Regions from separate parts of the Homo sapiens genome. Here region 1 is linked to region 2. The links are contacts of gene promoters, found by promoter capture Hi-C in human tissues and cell types (Jung and others, 2019). All regions are on one chromosome and are shown on one strand. Each heading gives the region's core, a stretch centred on a gene start or on the middle of the fragment in contact. The rest is flanking DNA. Distances are from core to core; before and after follow the strand shown.

Region 1 (7,002 bases), core at 911-3,410, 380 kb before region 2:
ACTAATTTACCTCTGCTACCAGGGAGAGGCTGAGTGATTAAAAACCGCCTATCAGGACAACCTGCAGAGTAAGAGCAACCCCAGTTTACAGTTGAGGAAGTCAAGGCTCAGGGAGGCAAGCCCAAGGCCAGGTAGCAGGGCCAGGCCCGACGTCTGTGCGAGGCTGGACGAAGGTCAGGACGAAAACCTGGTGGCTTCAGAGGCAGGTGTGCCCAGGCTGCAGGCTTCTCCTCCTGGCTCAGCCTGCTCTAACTGTGTGACCTCAGGCAGGTGGCTCAGCTTCTCTGAAACACGATGGGAGGATGATGAAAGACCCAACGGTCAGTGGTCACATGGACTGACTGATGGAGCAAGGGAGAGGAGGAAGAAGATGCCTGGCTTCCTTGCCGGTTGAGCACAGGGTCTGATGGGAGGATGGACAGGAGTGGGCAGCCACCTCATTGCTGTCTAATTGCCTACACCTGGGGTAAAGCAGGGATTCCCGTCCATCCCAGAGACGAGGAAACTGAGGCTCAGGTGAAGCCCGGCCCAAGGCCACACAGGTTGTTGCAGGGCGCTGAGGCAGGAGTCCAAGACCTGGTGTGTTCACGTGTCCTGCGGAGGGTCTCAGCCCCTTCCCTAGCCGAAGACGGATGCTGCCCTGGGGCCAGCTCTGCTGCCTGGTAGTCAGTTCTGACAGGGACGTGGCCAGGACAACGTCTCAGGAAACTGGAGCCGGGGTGGACATTCTGCAAGATCTGCTTGCAGGGGACCAGATGGTGACCTGGACTTCGGCCCATGGCCCACCAGAGGAAGGGAGGGAGTCCCACAAGTACCTGTTTTCCTCTGACACAGAGGTTCTGGGCTGGAGCCTCCCTGCTGTTGCATGCCTGTGTGACTGCCCTCCAGGGTCCCCTCTTCCTCTCCTCATGCCTGAGGGGCAGCCCAAGCCCCTGAGCCTGAGTCCGCTGAGGGAGTCAGAATGCATGAGTGAAAGGGCCTATTCTTACGGAGGTGTTGAAAGTGGTGGCCAAGGTCAGGAGTGTCCTGGGGCTACTGGGGGCTGGTCTTCTGGCAGGGAGCTCAGCCACTCAGCTATGTGACCCTGGGCACATCACCTTCCCTCTCTGGCTTCCACTCGCTGCTAACAGAGGCTCATAGAGAGTAGACAAGAGGAGGGCCTAGCACCGTGCCTGGATCAGAGCGAGTGCTCAGTGGATTATTGCCAGCTTTGTTATTATGATTTAATTTGTTAACCTCAGGGTGTATTTTAGGGTAGGACAGGAAAGCTTGCATGCCTCAAGCCCTCTGTATAAAATCTAAGGCATGGCTTCATATGGTGGCTCATGCCTGTATTCCCAGCACTTTGGGAGGCCGAGGAGGGCAGATCATTTGAGGTCAGGAGTCTGAGATCAGCCTGGCCAACATGGTGAAACCCCACCTCTACTAAATACAAAAAATTAGCCGGGCGTGGTGCCGCATGCCTGTAATCTCAGCTACTCAGGAGGCTGAGGCACGAGAATCACTAGAGCCCGGGAGGCAGAGGTTGCAGTGAGCCAATATCATGCCACTGCACTCCGGCCTGGGTGACAGAGCGAGACTCTGCCTCAAAAAAAAAAAAAAAAAAAAATTTCTGTGCGAGGGCCAACAAAGCAGGGAAGGCTTCACCAAAAAGGTGCCCTTGGTGCTGGGCCGGGAAGAGCAAGAAGGAATTCCTTAGTGGGCAGTGGTGGGAAGGCAGAGGAGGCAGAGAAAGCACTCCAGGCAGAAGGAACAGCCTGAGCAAAGGCTTGAAGGTAATGAGCCCGCTGCATCCAAGGCTGACTCTAGGGAAGGCTGAGGGGCTGCAGGGTGGGATTCGCAGGGCACTGGTTACTGCTGGCAGGTGCCTCAGGGGCCAGTTGAAGATTCACACTCACAGCGGCCTTGGGTGCCATACAAAAGCCTGGGTTTGTGGTGAAGATCATGGGAAATGAAGCTTGGAAAGAGGGCTTTCCAGGCAGAAACTGGAGGGGAGAAGATCTGGAGGAAGGTCACTCAAGGCAGAGGAAACAGTAAGAGCAAAGGCTGGAGGCAGGTGTGAGTGCACCAGGCACCTTTAAATGAGTGGGAAAATGAAGCCATGACCTATATGATTCATATGAATGCTTCCTGGGTCTCTGGAGCCAATCGGGTAGGAACCAGAGTGCTGGCCATGCCCAAGCCCGATGCAGGGGTGGAAACTCAGAGCCCAAGACTTCCACCAGCCCACGTGCCCAGCTTCCCTGTCCCAAGGAAGTACCCAAGACCAACTGCAGTGTGCTCCAGGAGCACAAAATGTCCCCACATGAAAGGGCACTCATGGGTATGAGTGCAAGGAGACTTTCCAATAAATCTTTGCCATTCTGACCTTTGCTCTGCAAACTTGGCTGGCTCAGCCCTTACATAATGAGCTGCTGGGACACTGGCCAGCTGACTCAAGGATGAGTATAGGGTGCTCCTGGGCCACCTTGAACCCTTCCTTTCCTTCACTGTCAATTCTAAAACCTGAGTCTACAGGTCTCTGGGCTTCCAGGAGCTATCCTTTTTGGCAATTGAGACTTAGATCCTGTATGTTTTTGTTCCTTCCCTAGCTGCAAGGTCACCCCTTGAGTGCCATGTCCTGTCCTCCTGATCACTCCCCACTGCCACCACACACATGACTCCCACCTTGTGAGGGCCGGGTACACAGCAGGTACTCAGTGAAGACCAGGTTTCCTGTGTTGACATCGCTGTGCCCAGAGACAGCACTCAGCAACCTTAGTGACTGCATGTTTCTTGGCTTCTTCAGCCCCCAGCCTCCATATAGCAAGGGCCAAAAGTTAAGCTGCATGGGGTTGGCCTGGACTTCTGGGGCTCCCTGCACCCAGGAGCACTGGCAGGCCCTGCCCTGGAAGTCTCTATGGGATCCAGAGAAATATGGGCTCTGCCATGGGGGTCAGACGCAGCAGGCAGGAATGTGTCCAAGAGAAGAGGGAGCAGCAGTGCATGATTAAGCACCATGGGGCAGGCCTGCCATGCTAATGGCCGTGGGGTCCGTAGGTACTCAGGCACACACGGGGTTGTTTCTCCTACCTGGAGCCTGACTTCCTTCTCTCCCTGCTTCAAGATGAGGGAGTTTTGGGTGGGAAGCTACCATCACTTCCTTTATCATCACCCTGGTCGCTGTTGGGTGAGTGTGCAAGGACACATATGTGCATGCATTCTTATGCTTAAGAGGCATGGCGTGGGGGCAGCAGGGTAGGAGATGCCAGGTGCAAGCAGGCAAGAGTGTGTGGCCTCCAGAGATGGCTCAGGCTCAGGATCCGCTCCCGAGACACCCTCATTCCACACCACCCCAGCGGAAGTTTTGACAGCGTCTTTCCACATAAGACCAAGGCTTTCCCTCCTGAGGGGAGGAGGGAAGGGGGACAGAGCAGAGGAGAACAAGGAAAAGAGTCCACTGTGCCTTCCCGGCCTGGATCCTCCTGTGTGCTCTACTCTGTGTCCCAGAGGGCCTGCATTGCTTCCCATTGACTCTCCCAGCTACCCAGGCTCCCCGGCGCAGCCCCTGCCCCCAGGGACTGGGCAAAAGGGAGTCTGTGGGCCGGGCACAGTGGCTCACGCCTGTAATCCCAACACTTAGGGAGGCTGAGGTGGATGGATCACTTAAGGCCAGGAGTTCGAGACCAGCCTGGAAACATGGTAAAACCCTGCCTCCACTAAAAATACAAAAAAATTAGTTGGGCATGGTGGCACATGCCTGTAATCCCAGCTACTCGGGAGGCTGAGGCATGAGAAATGCTTGAACCTGGGAGGCGGAGGTTGTAGTGAGCCCCAAGATCATGCCACTGCACTTCAGCCTGCCGAGACTCCATCTCAAAAAAAAAAAAAAAAAAAAAGTTGGGGGTGTCTGTGGAGACCATGGGCATGGGATCTTTTCGTTCTTTCTTTCTTTTTTTTTTTTTTGAGACAGAGTCTCGCTCTGTCGCCTAGGCTGGAGTGCAGTGGTGTGATCTCAGCTGACTGCAACCTCTGCCTTCTGGGTTCAAGCGATTCTCCTGCCTCAGCCTCCTGAGTAGCTGGAACCACAGGCACGCGTCACCACACCTGGCTAATTTTTATATTTTTAAATGGAGATGGAGTTTCACCATGTTGGCCAGTCTGGTCACAAACTCCTGACCTCAGGTGATCCGCCCACCTTGGCCTCCCAAAGTGCTGGGATTACAGGCGTGATTACAGGATACAGGGATTATTACTGTGCCTGGTGGAGACCATGGGATCTTGAACCCTAGACCCTGCACTCAGAGGTCAGCCTCCTTGGAAGGGCCTCCTCCCTGAAGAACTCAATTTTTGATCCTGTCTGGCAGCAACTGGTGCTAAGCTGCCCAAAGGCACTGTCTGGGCATCAAAATAAAACCTGAAAATTGCTACCCCGCCCAGTACCGCAGAGCTCTGCCAAAAGGTAATTATAGGTGGCCTGGGGTGGCCAGCTCTGCATATAGCCCTAAGCTCAGCAGGCCCAGGGCCACAGGCTGCAGGGAGCCCTGCCCCTGCCCCTCTTGTTCTGCACCAGGCCTAGTGCAGAGTGTTCCAAGTCCCAGCTCCAGGGCCCTCCATCAGCCTACAGGCCTCCAGATCTTGGTTGTGGTCCCCTGGGTGTCTGGGTGGATTCCAGACTCTACAGAGGGTGTGAAGAGAGCTTGGTCTCAGCTTCACATCATAACAAGAACAGTAATTCCAGCCCCCACATATCAAGCACTCACTACCTACCAGGCCCTGAACTAACACTTGATGTTCCTTAATTCACAAACTTCCCACAAAGCCCCTATGATATGGGTACCATCATTAGTCCCATTTTACAGGAGGGGATACTGAGGCCCTGGGAATCTAAGTGACATGCCTATGGTCACCCACAGTACCCTGGGTTCTGGGCCAGACTTCACAACCACTAGGCCAGCTTGTCCCTAAAGCCACAGAGGTGAGAGTGAGACAGTGGGTAACTGGCCTGGGTGGAGTGAGACAAGTGACCGGCGTGGAGGCGTCAGCAGCTGGCAGGGGAAGGACAGTTTCCCTTCTGAAAGCTCATTTGCCAACTGTGAGGCCTGTGTGGCCTCACAGGTGGGTGTCTAGGGGGAAACAAGAGACTGGGGAAGGCAAGGGTAGGCACACAGTCTGGCTGCCTCACAGCCGGCACTCTTGGCCATGCCATCTCCCCTGCAGCCTGCCCAGATCTTCTCAGCCCAGAGGGAACCTGTGTGTCCCTGCCTGCTCTTCCCCACCTACAGCGTGGGAAGTGGTGTGAGGGCAGGGCTCCACCCAGGACCGCTTTGTGCCCCTCGCACTGTCCTGGGCGCAGTGGGGGTGTGTGAGTCTACTGCACCCCATCTCCTGCCACACAAGACTCACTGCCTGGGCCTAGCCAAGTTTGCTGTCTGGAATTTGCCTTAAAAAACTCCCAGTCTCTGCTGACTCGTGAGGGCTGAGCTGCGACTTCCCTTGTCCCTGGGCTAAGGTCTTAGTCCATACTACTAGGAAGTTCTAACTGACGTCTCACTTGCATCTAACTGGCTTCTCACTTGCTGTCTGTCATTTTCTCTTCTCACTGGTTCCCTTTCTGGTTCTTGCAGAGGCAATAGTAAATAGGCCATGTGTTCATGTTTCTCATCTACACAGAAAATGGTAACTCTAAATGACTTCTGCACTGACCTTGTTAGTCAACAGTGAATCTACAAACCTTTATTAAATCCCTACTCTGCTGAGAGCTGAGGAAAGGTAGAAGAAGGGGGTGGCAAATTCCTAGGTGAGCTACTGTGCCCACTTCTGTGCTTGAGGCAGATATTGCTAAGTGATCACAGAGCTTCTTGCCGAGCCTGGAGGGATATAGCTCAGAATCCTTGTCAACACAGCTCCAGGGAGCCATTGGCGACCAGCTGGAATTGATACATCAGTTGAAATCCATTGGCCCTCCCTTTGCAGCCCACCTCCTGCCAAGGATTGAGGCCAGGGTCAGGCCAGGGCTTCTTGTGCAAAGCTGTCCTTGCCCTGTCCCCCCCTTGCACTGCCCATGCCCTGATTTCTTTGTCCTCGTTCTCAATGCCTGACACAGGATGGGGAGAAGGCAGACAGTATCATCTGTCTTCTGTCTCAGGTTCCTGCAAGGCTGCGATAGCCTAGTTAGGGATGCGGCCCCACAGTGGCACAGTGCCTTTGGATGGAAGGCATCTGGGCTGCTGCATCAGAGCACCTTCCACACCCGCCTCCATCCGAGACTTGAGACCCTCCCCAGAGCACATCTTCTCAGAACTGCTCTGGGGCCCAGGGATCACAGGTCCCCTTGCCCAGCCTTCTGCTCCCAAGGTGCTCACTGTGCATTCCTTCCCAGGTCAAGGACAAAAGTCTGACTTCTCCCTTGCCCTTTCCAGCCATTCAAACACATGGATTGGCACCCACTGGGTACCAGAGCCCTTGGGAGGGGTCAGGAGCTTCCCTGAGCAGAAACGGAGGGTCCCTGACTCAAGGAACTTGGGGTCCTCAGGGGAAAGAGTCAAGGTCCCAGATGGGTTATTGAGGAAGCATTAGACTTAGGGCCAGACAGACAGGTCAATCCCAGTACTGCCACTTGGGCCTGTTTTCTTGTCTATAAAATAAGGATAATAGAAATAATACACATAATAATGCCTATACCACAGACTTATTTAAGGATTAAGCAAGATAATTTATTCTGTCCTTCAACATTATTTGTTGAGCACCTGCTATACACCAACCTCTGCCCTCAGCTCTAGGGATACGATTGCTCTCTTGGAGCTGACAGTCAGAGGGAGGGCAGACTAGTCACCAGGAATCGTAATAGGAGCCAAGAAATGATCACACAGAGTGAGCAGGGCCCAGATGGGGAAGCCTAGGGACTGAGAGCCAGAGGAACCCTTGACCCCACTCAGGAAATCAAAGAAAGCTTCCAGGAGGAGATGACTCCTGAAGGAGGAGGGAGAAAGTTGTTCCACACCTGAGCGAAGGCTGATCAGT
Region 2 (6,916 bases), core at 1,546-4,045:
CAGGCCCTTGTCTGTCTTGTTCATAGTTGTCCTCCAGGTCCAGGCTAGTAGACCCTTGCTAAATGTCTGTAGAATGAATGATAGGTTTTTTTTTTTTTTTTTTTTTTTAGAAGGAGTATTGCTCTGTCGCCCAGGCTGGAGTGCAGTGACATGATCTTGGCCCAATGCAATCTCCGCCTCCCGGGTTCACGTGATTCTCATGCCTCGGCCTCCTGAGTAGCTGGGATTACAGGAGCAGTGTGCCATAATTTTTTATTGTGGTAAAATATACAAAACATAAAATTTATTATTTAACCATTTTTAAGAATACAGTTCGGTGGCATAAGTACATTCATGTTTTGCATCCATCACCACCATCCATCTCCAGGACTTTTTCATTTTCCCCAGCTAAAACTCTGCACCCATTAAACACCAACCACCAATTCCCTCCTCTCTCCAACAACTGGCAACCACCATTCTACTTTCTGAATCTATGACTTTGACTACTACAGGTACCTCACATAAGCGAAATCATACTTTTGTCCTCTGTGACTGCCTTATTTTGTTTAGCATAATGTCCTCAGGGGTCGTCCATGTTGTAGCATGTCAGAACATCCTTCCTTTTTAAAAATTTATTTATTTTGAGACAGAGTCTCACTCTGTCACTCAGCTGGAGTGCAGTGGCAGGATCATGGCTCACTGCAGCCTCAACCTCCGAGGCTCAACTGATTCTCCCACCTCAGCCTCCCAGGTAGCTGGGACTACAGGCATGCGCCACCACACCCAGCTAATTTTAAAAATTTTTTGTAGAGAAGGGGGTCTCACTGTGTTTCGTAGGCTGGTCTCAAGTGATCCTCCCACCTTGGCCTCTCAAAGTGCTGGGATTAGGTGTGAGTCATAGTGTGTGGCCTCTAGAGCACTAACTTTAAAAAGCTACAATTACAAATCCTTCCTCTGTCCCTCTGAGATATATACCTATGTATTTCCTACAACCTAGGAATGTCTTTCTCAAGGACCTGAAATCCATTCCTTTGGAATGTAATCATCATAAAGGTAGGGCTCATGTCTCCCAGTCTATGTGGGAGAATAGAATCCTAACTTCCCTAATTGCCAGCTAGCAGACACAGTTGGCCTAATCACATTTACGCTAAGCACTCCTTTTAATTTTTCACTTCCCAGACTCTAAGTGAGCCCCTGCATGCTCCCCTGCCTACTCCCTTATTCTTCCTTTGGAATGCCCAATCACCCCTGCGCAAATGGAATGGAGTTCAGCTGCTTCCCCTACTGTCAGTAGTTACTGAATAAAATCTATTTTCATCATTTTAATGCCTGGCTTTGTTTATCTTTAATAATATCATTAACTAGAGTTCAATCTTTATTTATGGTTCTTTTTGTTTGGTTTTCTAGTGAAGATGAAATTGCTTTGAGTAAAATGTGCAAATACTAAATGTACCATTAGATAATTTTGACAAATTCATACACCCAAATCTCCTATCAAGATATATATCAAGGATGAGGAGAAATTTGAACCCCTGTGGATTGCTAATGGGAATGTAAAATGGTTCAGCTTGCTGTAAAAAATGGTGTGGTGGTTTCTCAATACATTAAACTAGAATTAGCATATGATCCAGCAATTTCACTTCTGAGTGTATACCCAAATGAATTAAAAAGAAAGCAGGGACTCAAACAGATATTCGTACACCCATGTTCATAGCCGAATTATTCACAATAGCCAAAAGATGGAAGCTATCCGTGTCCATGACTGCATGAATGGATAAACAAATTGTGGTGTATACATATAATGGAATATTATTTGGCCATAAAAAGGAAAGAGGCCAGGCACGATGGCGCACACCTGTAATAACGGCATTTTGGGAGGCCAACGTGGGTGAATTGCTTGAGCCGAGGAGTTCAAGACCGGTCTGGGGAACATAGTGACACCCTGTCTCTGAAAAAAAATAAAATAGGATTAGCCAGGCATGGACGTGTGTGCCTGTAGTTGGGAGGATGGCTTGAGCCCAGGAAGTCTAGGCAGCAGTGAGCACCATTGCACCACTGCACTCCAAGCTGGGTGGCAGGGCGAGACCCTGTCTCAAAAAAAAAAAAAAAAAAAAAAAAGGAAAAAAAGGAAGCGCTCTGGGAAAGGGAGGCTTTGGCTGGAACAAATGGTGAATTCTTTTGGCACCCCTGAGCTTTCTTGGGCAGGCATTTTAAAGGGGCCTAGGCCCACCTAGAGATCCGCCCTTAGGCTGTTAACTTAGCATGATGCCATGTTAGAGTTTAGTCAAGTCTCTTAGTGCAGTGGTTAGGGTAGTCGTTAAATGCTGAGGAGTCTTTGTAGTTCTCAATTAGCAGGCGAGTTTTTAGGGATGAAAGGTACTGATAATTTACTTTGAATGTATCAAAAAATAGGATGGATTGCTGGATGCAGAGACGGCATGTGATAAAGCGGATACAGCAAATGTTACTGGTAGAGAGTCTGTCACCCAGTCATTAGAACATGAGCTCCAGGAGGGCAGGGACTTTGTTGGCCTGGCACATAGGCGGTCAACAAATATTTGCAGAATGAACGAACAATACTTGTAACGGCCTTAGGACAAACAAGTGCACAAAAAGAGGAAGCTTTCCCTGACTCTGTTGTGGCGGGGATCCGGACGGTGGAACGGACGCACAGAAAGTGCGCGGAGCCTGGCGGAGTCGCTCTGGCCTCCTGGAGCCTCTGCTCTATGGCGGGTCCTCCCGGGGCTGCGGAACCTCTCTGGCCGCTCGTGGCGTCCGCTCTATGGCCGTCCTTTGGGGACGCAGGAGCATGCGCAGAACTGCTCCCGGCCCGGATCGCTATGGCAGCGGCGTCGTCGCGGGCCGGGCCCCAGCAATCCCGCCCGGGCCCGGCTGCCTCAACAGCCGCCCCCACTGCCCCCTCTCGGGCATGAACCGAGCTTCTTGTTGCCGCCCGCTGCCCTACCCGCCGCTGCCGCCGCATCCCGACTCTGGGCCAGCGCTGGGAACATGCCCCTGGCCGCCTACTGCTACCTGCGGGTCGTGGGCAAGGGGAGCTATGGAGAGGTGACGCTTGTGAAGCACCGGCGGGACGGCAAGCAGGTCTGCAGGGGTGGGGCCCGGCAAGGGGCGGGGGCGGGCAGAAGTGCGCCGAGGGCGCCGACCGGTAGATTAGGTCGGGGGTGGTCGCAAGAGGCTCATCTCGGATGGCGTTTCCTCAGGGAAATGGTCCCAGACCAAGACGAGGCCTGGCCTCCCTGTAATATGCGCCCAGAACTACTTCTACTTCTTTGTTGTGTTAAATTTTTTTCCTTTTAATTTTCATTTTCTTTAATTACAATTCTAAGTTTTATGTAAAAATTTTCAGTCTCTGCCTATCTACTTCTTTGTTGTACTAATTGGCATGCGTGATCTACACACCTTTCTCCCAACCCCGATACTCTCATGAGAGCCGGTATCATGCATTCCCAGGACTTAATACAGCGCCTAGCAAGCATTATTCCTTGAATGAAGGGCCCCAAACGTCTCTACTGTAGACTGCTGGATTCACTTAAAACTCGACTCATTTTCTTCCCGCCAAACCTTCTCTCATGTCTTCCGTTTCAGTGAATAGTGACACCAACCCACCAGTTGCCCAAGCCGGACACCTGGAGTCATTTTTAAGCCTCCCCACGCACCCCAACACTGATTATATTCATCTATCACTAAGACAATAGGCCTCCTCTCATCTCTACTGCTACCACCCCAATCCAGGACACCCTGTTGTCTCTAGCAAAGCTATGGCCACGGTTTCCCAACTGGTCGCCGCCACTTGACTTGCTTTTCTCCAATCCATCACTTTCACTGCAGCCTCAGTGATCTTTCTCAAATTTAAATCTGATGTTGTCACTCCTCTGTTTAAAACACTTTATCCCATTACTCTCAGGATAATGAACCAATTATTCAATGTGGTTTATTAATAGGGTGACAATATAATGTACAAACTGGGACAATTTTGAAACTGAAAGGCATTATTAATAGTTACACCAGGACAGTAGGACTGCTCCAGGCAAGCTGAGAAGAGATGTTCCCCCTAAATATAGGGCCCAATTGCCTGTTCTTCCTTGTCTCTGGTGCTAGTTGCTTTGCGTGGAACACAAGCTCATGCATAAGAAATTTATTCAGTAGGCATTGGGGGAATCATTGGATTTTGGGGCTGATGATAGGGAACTAGCAATAGCTAGTTATTTGAGCTTTAGTTTACACTTCACAAAACACATTTATCTATGTGTTGAAGAAATGAATTGTATGGTCTTTGAAATGATTGAGGGCAATGTATTAGGTATTAGAGGCTATTGATTTCTTTTAAGTGTGAATAATTTTGTATGCTGAAGATCAGTGACTATTAAACTTATGGGGCCATGGATCCCTTTGAGTATCTAACGTAATCCACAGACTATTCTGTCTGCAAATGTATAGTCAAGCTATATTTTATTCACCTTTTTGGGAGAGCTTAGATATTAAGGAATTTCTTTTTTTATTTTTTATTTTTTTTGAGACAGAGTCTTGCTCTGCCTCCCAGGCTGGAGTGCAGTGGTGCGATGTTGGCTCACTGCTGCAACTACTGCCTCCCAGGTTCAAGCAATTCTCCTGTGTCAGCCTCCCGAGTTGCTGGGACTATGGGTACACACCACCACGCCGGGCTAATTTTTGTATTTTTAGTAGAGACAGGTTTCACCATGTTGACCAGGCTGGTCTTGAACTCCTGACCTCAGGTGATCCACCCGCCTCACCCTCCCAAAGTGCTGGGATTACAGGTGTGAGCCACTGTGTATGGCCAGATATTAAGGAATTGCTAACACAGGTTTTATAATTGATCCAATGGTATGTTATCTTGAACTCACTTTTTTTAGTCATTAATGAAATTGTGAAATGCAGATGGGAAAGGTAATTTTTGTGGCCCTACACTGCTATAAATCTAACTTATAAGAAGTATCAATAATAGCAAATATTTTCCCCGATTTTGTGCTTGGTGAAAAACAAAATGAATAGGTTATCTGACAGGCTCCACAAGGTTGGTTTTGAGGGTATTCTTGAGAGCCCTTAGATAACTCTGAGGCCACAAATCTTACGTTTATTTGCACATTGTAAAAATACATGGTTTGTTTTTAGTATGTCATCAAAAAACTGAACCTCCGAAATGCCTCTAGCCGAGAGCGGCGAGCTGCTGAACAGGAAGCCCAGCTCTTGTCTCAGTTGAAGCATCCCAACATTGTCACCTACAAGGAGTCATGGGAAGGAGGAGATGGTCTGCTCTACATTGTCATGGGCTTCTGTGAAGGAGGTGATTTGTACCGAAAGCTCAAGGAGCAGAAAGGGCAGCTTCTGCCTGAGAATCAGGTGGTAGAGTGGTTTGTACAGATCGCCATGGCTTTGCAGGTACTGTGTAGACTAATAGCATCCTAGCTTGTTCCCAGATGGCAAGAAGATGGCAGGTGTATTTTAGGAAAATTTTTCTTCAGATACTTACATATAGAAATGTATTTTTTGGAAAATTCATTTGTGAAGTTGACCCAGTCACTCTTTCTGTAGCATTGGAACTTTTCTAAGTAAGTGATACCTATATTAAAATAGACATAGATTTCATGTCTGATTGCAGGGGAAGCCCACTCAATTACCATTTATAGCAAAGTCAATTTTAAGGACCCTGAGGCAACCAAGAGCATAGAGTGACTATGTTTGTTATCCATTGGTCAGTCGTGTCATGCTGAAAGGTGGCTAGGCTAATTGATATGCCCAGTGATTTCATCTGTCAGTCTGCTGGGGTACAGTAGATGGGAATGCAAAACAAGTTTTCTTTTTTTTATTTTTTAGAATTGGGCAGCACATCATTCCTTAAGATGGAATAAGTGTTCCTACAAGTTTGTGTTTTAATATGCATATAACTCAAAAGCGAGACGTTTATGAAATACTATTTTGGAACTGGGTAGACTTGTCCAGAATTAATTGACCATGTTTAAATTCTGAGATACTTTCTCTCTTTTTTTTTTTTTCTTTTGAGACGGAGTTTTGTTTTTGTTATCTAGGCTGGAGTGCAATGGCACGATCTCGGCTCACTGCAACCTCCACCTCCCAGGTTCAAGCGATTCTCCTGCCTCAGCCTCCCAAGTAGCTGGGATTACAGGCGCCTGCCACCATACCTGGCTAATTTTTTTTTTTGTATTTTTAGTAGAGATGGGGTTTTACCATGTTGGCCAGGCTGGTCTCGAACTCTTGACCTCAGGTGATCCACCTGCCTCGGCCTCCCAAAGTGCTGGGATTATAGGCGTGAGCCACCACGCCCGGCTGAGATACTTTCTCTAAATAAAAATGCTCTTGCTGTACTTGAAAATATTATTAAGCTGAGGATTTCATGGGTCTGAGAGGACTGTGCGTCTGACTTTGTATAAGTTGTCCTACCATCAGTGGAGTTTGTAAGCATTGTTTTTTTTTTAAGACAGAGTGTCACTGTCGCCCAGATTCGAGTGCAGTGGCACAATCGTGGCTCATTCCAACCTCCACCTCCTGGGTTCAAGTGATTCTTGTGCCTCAGCCTCCCAAGTAGCTGGGATTATAGGCGTGCGTCACCATGCCCAGCTAATTTTTGTATTTTTTTAGTAGAGATGGGGTTTTGCCATGTTGCCCAGGCTGGTCTTGAACTCCTGGCCTCAAGTGATCCGCTCACCTCGGCCTCCCAAACTGCTGAACACTGCGCCTGGCCTGTAAACATATTTTTTTTTTTTTTGAGACGGAGTCTCGCTCTGTCGCCCAGGCCGGACTACGGACTGCAGTGGCGCAATCTTGGCTCACTGCAAGCTCCGCTTCCCGGGTTCACGCCATTCTCCTGCCTCAGCGTCCCGAGTAGCTGGGACTACAGGCGCCCGCCACTGCGCCCGGCTAATTTTTTGTATTTTTAGTA

The links. Contacts are between HindIII fragments. The study calls those that stand out against the background at their distance.
Region 1: a fragment that was not itself captured here is called in contact with the fragment with the promoter of NEK4 in region 2 in 1 of the 25 tissues and cell types used here (lymphoblastoid cells).

The regions. Positions count from the first base shown.
Region 1 is chr3:53,145,732-53,152,733 of GRCh38, reverse strand. No RefSeq gene overlaps it. Among named protein-coding and RNA genes, the nearest start is that of PRKCD, 12 kb to the left of the region's middle. RefSeq lists an enhancer at 3,172-3,979. The HindIII fragment of the contact is 4,568 bases long and covers 1-4,444 here.
Region 2 is chr3:52,766,819-52,773,734 of GRCh38, reverse strand. NEK4 (NIMA related kinase 4) reads left to right here and starts at 2,795. Exons shown (of 16, transcript NM_003157.6): 1 at 2,795-3,081; 2 at 5,131-5,397. The coding sequence starts at 2,989. RefSeq lists enhancers at 2,664-2,713, 2,501-3,018 and a silencer at 2,874-2,983. The HindIII fragment of the contact is 13,261 bases long and covers 1-6,916 here.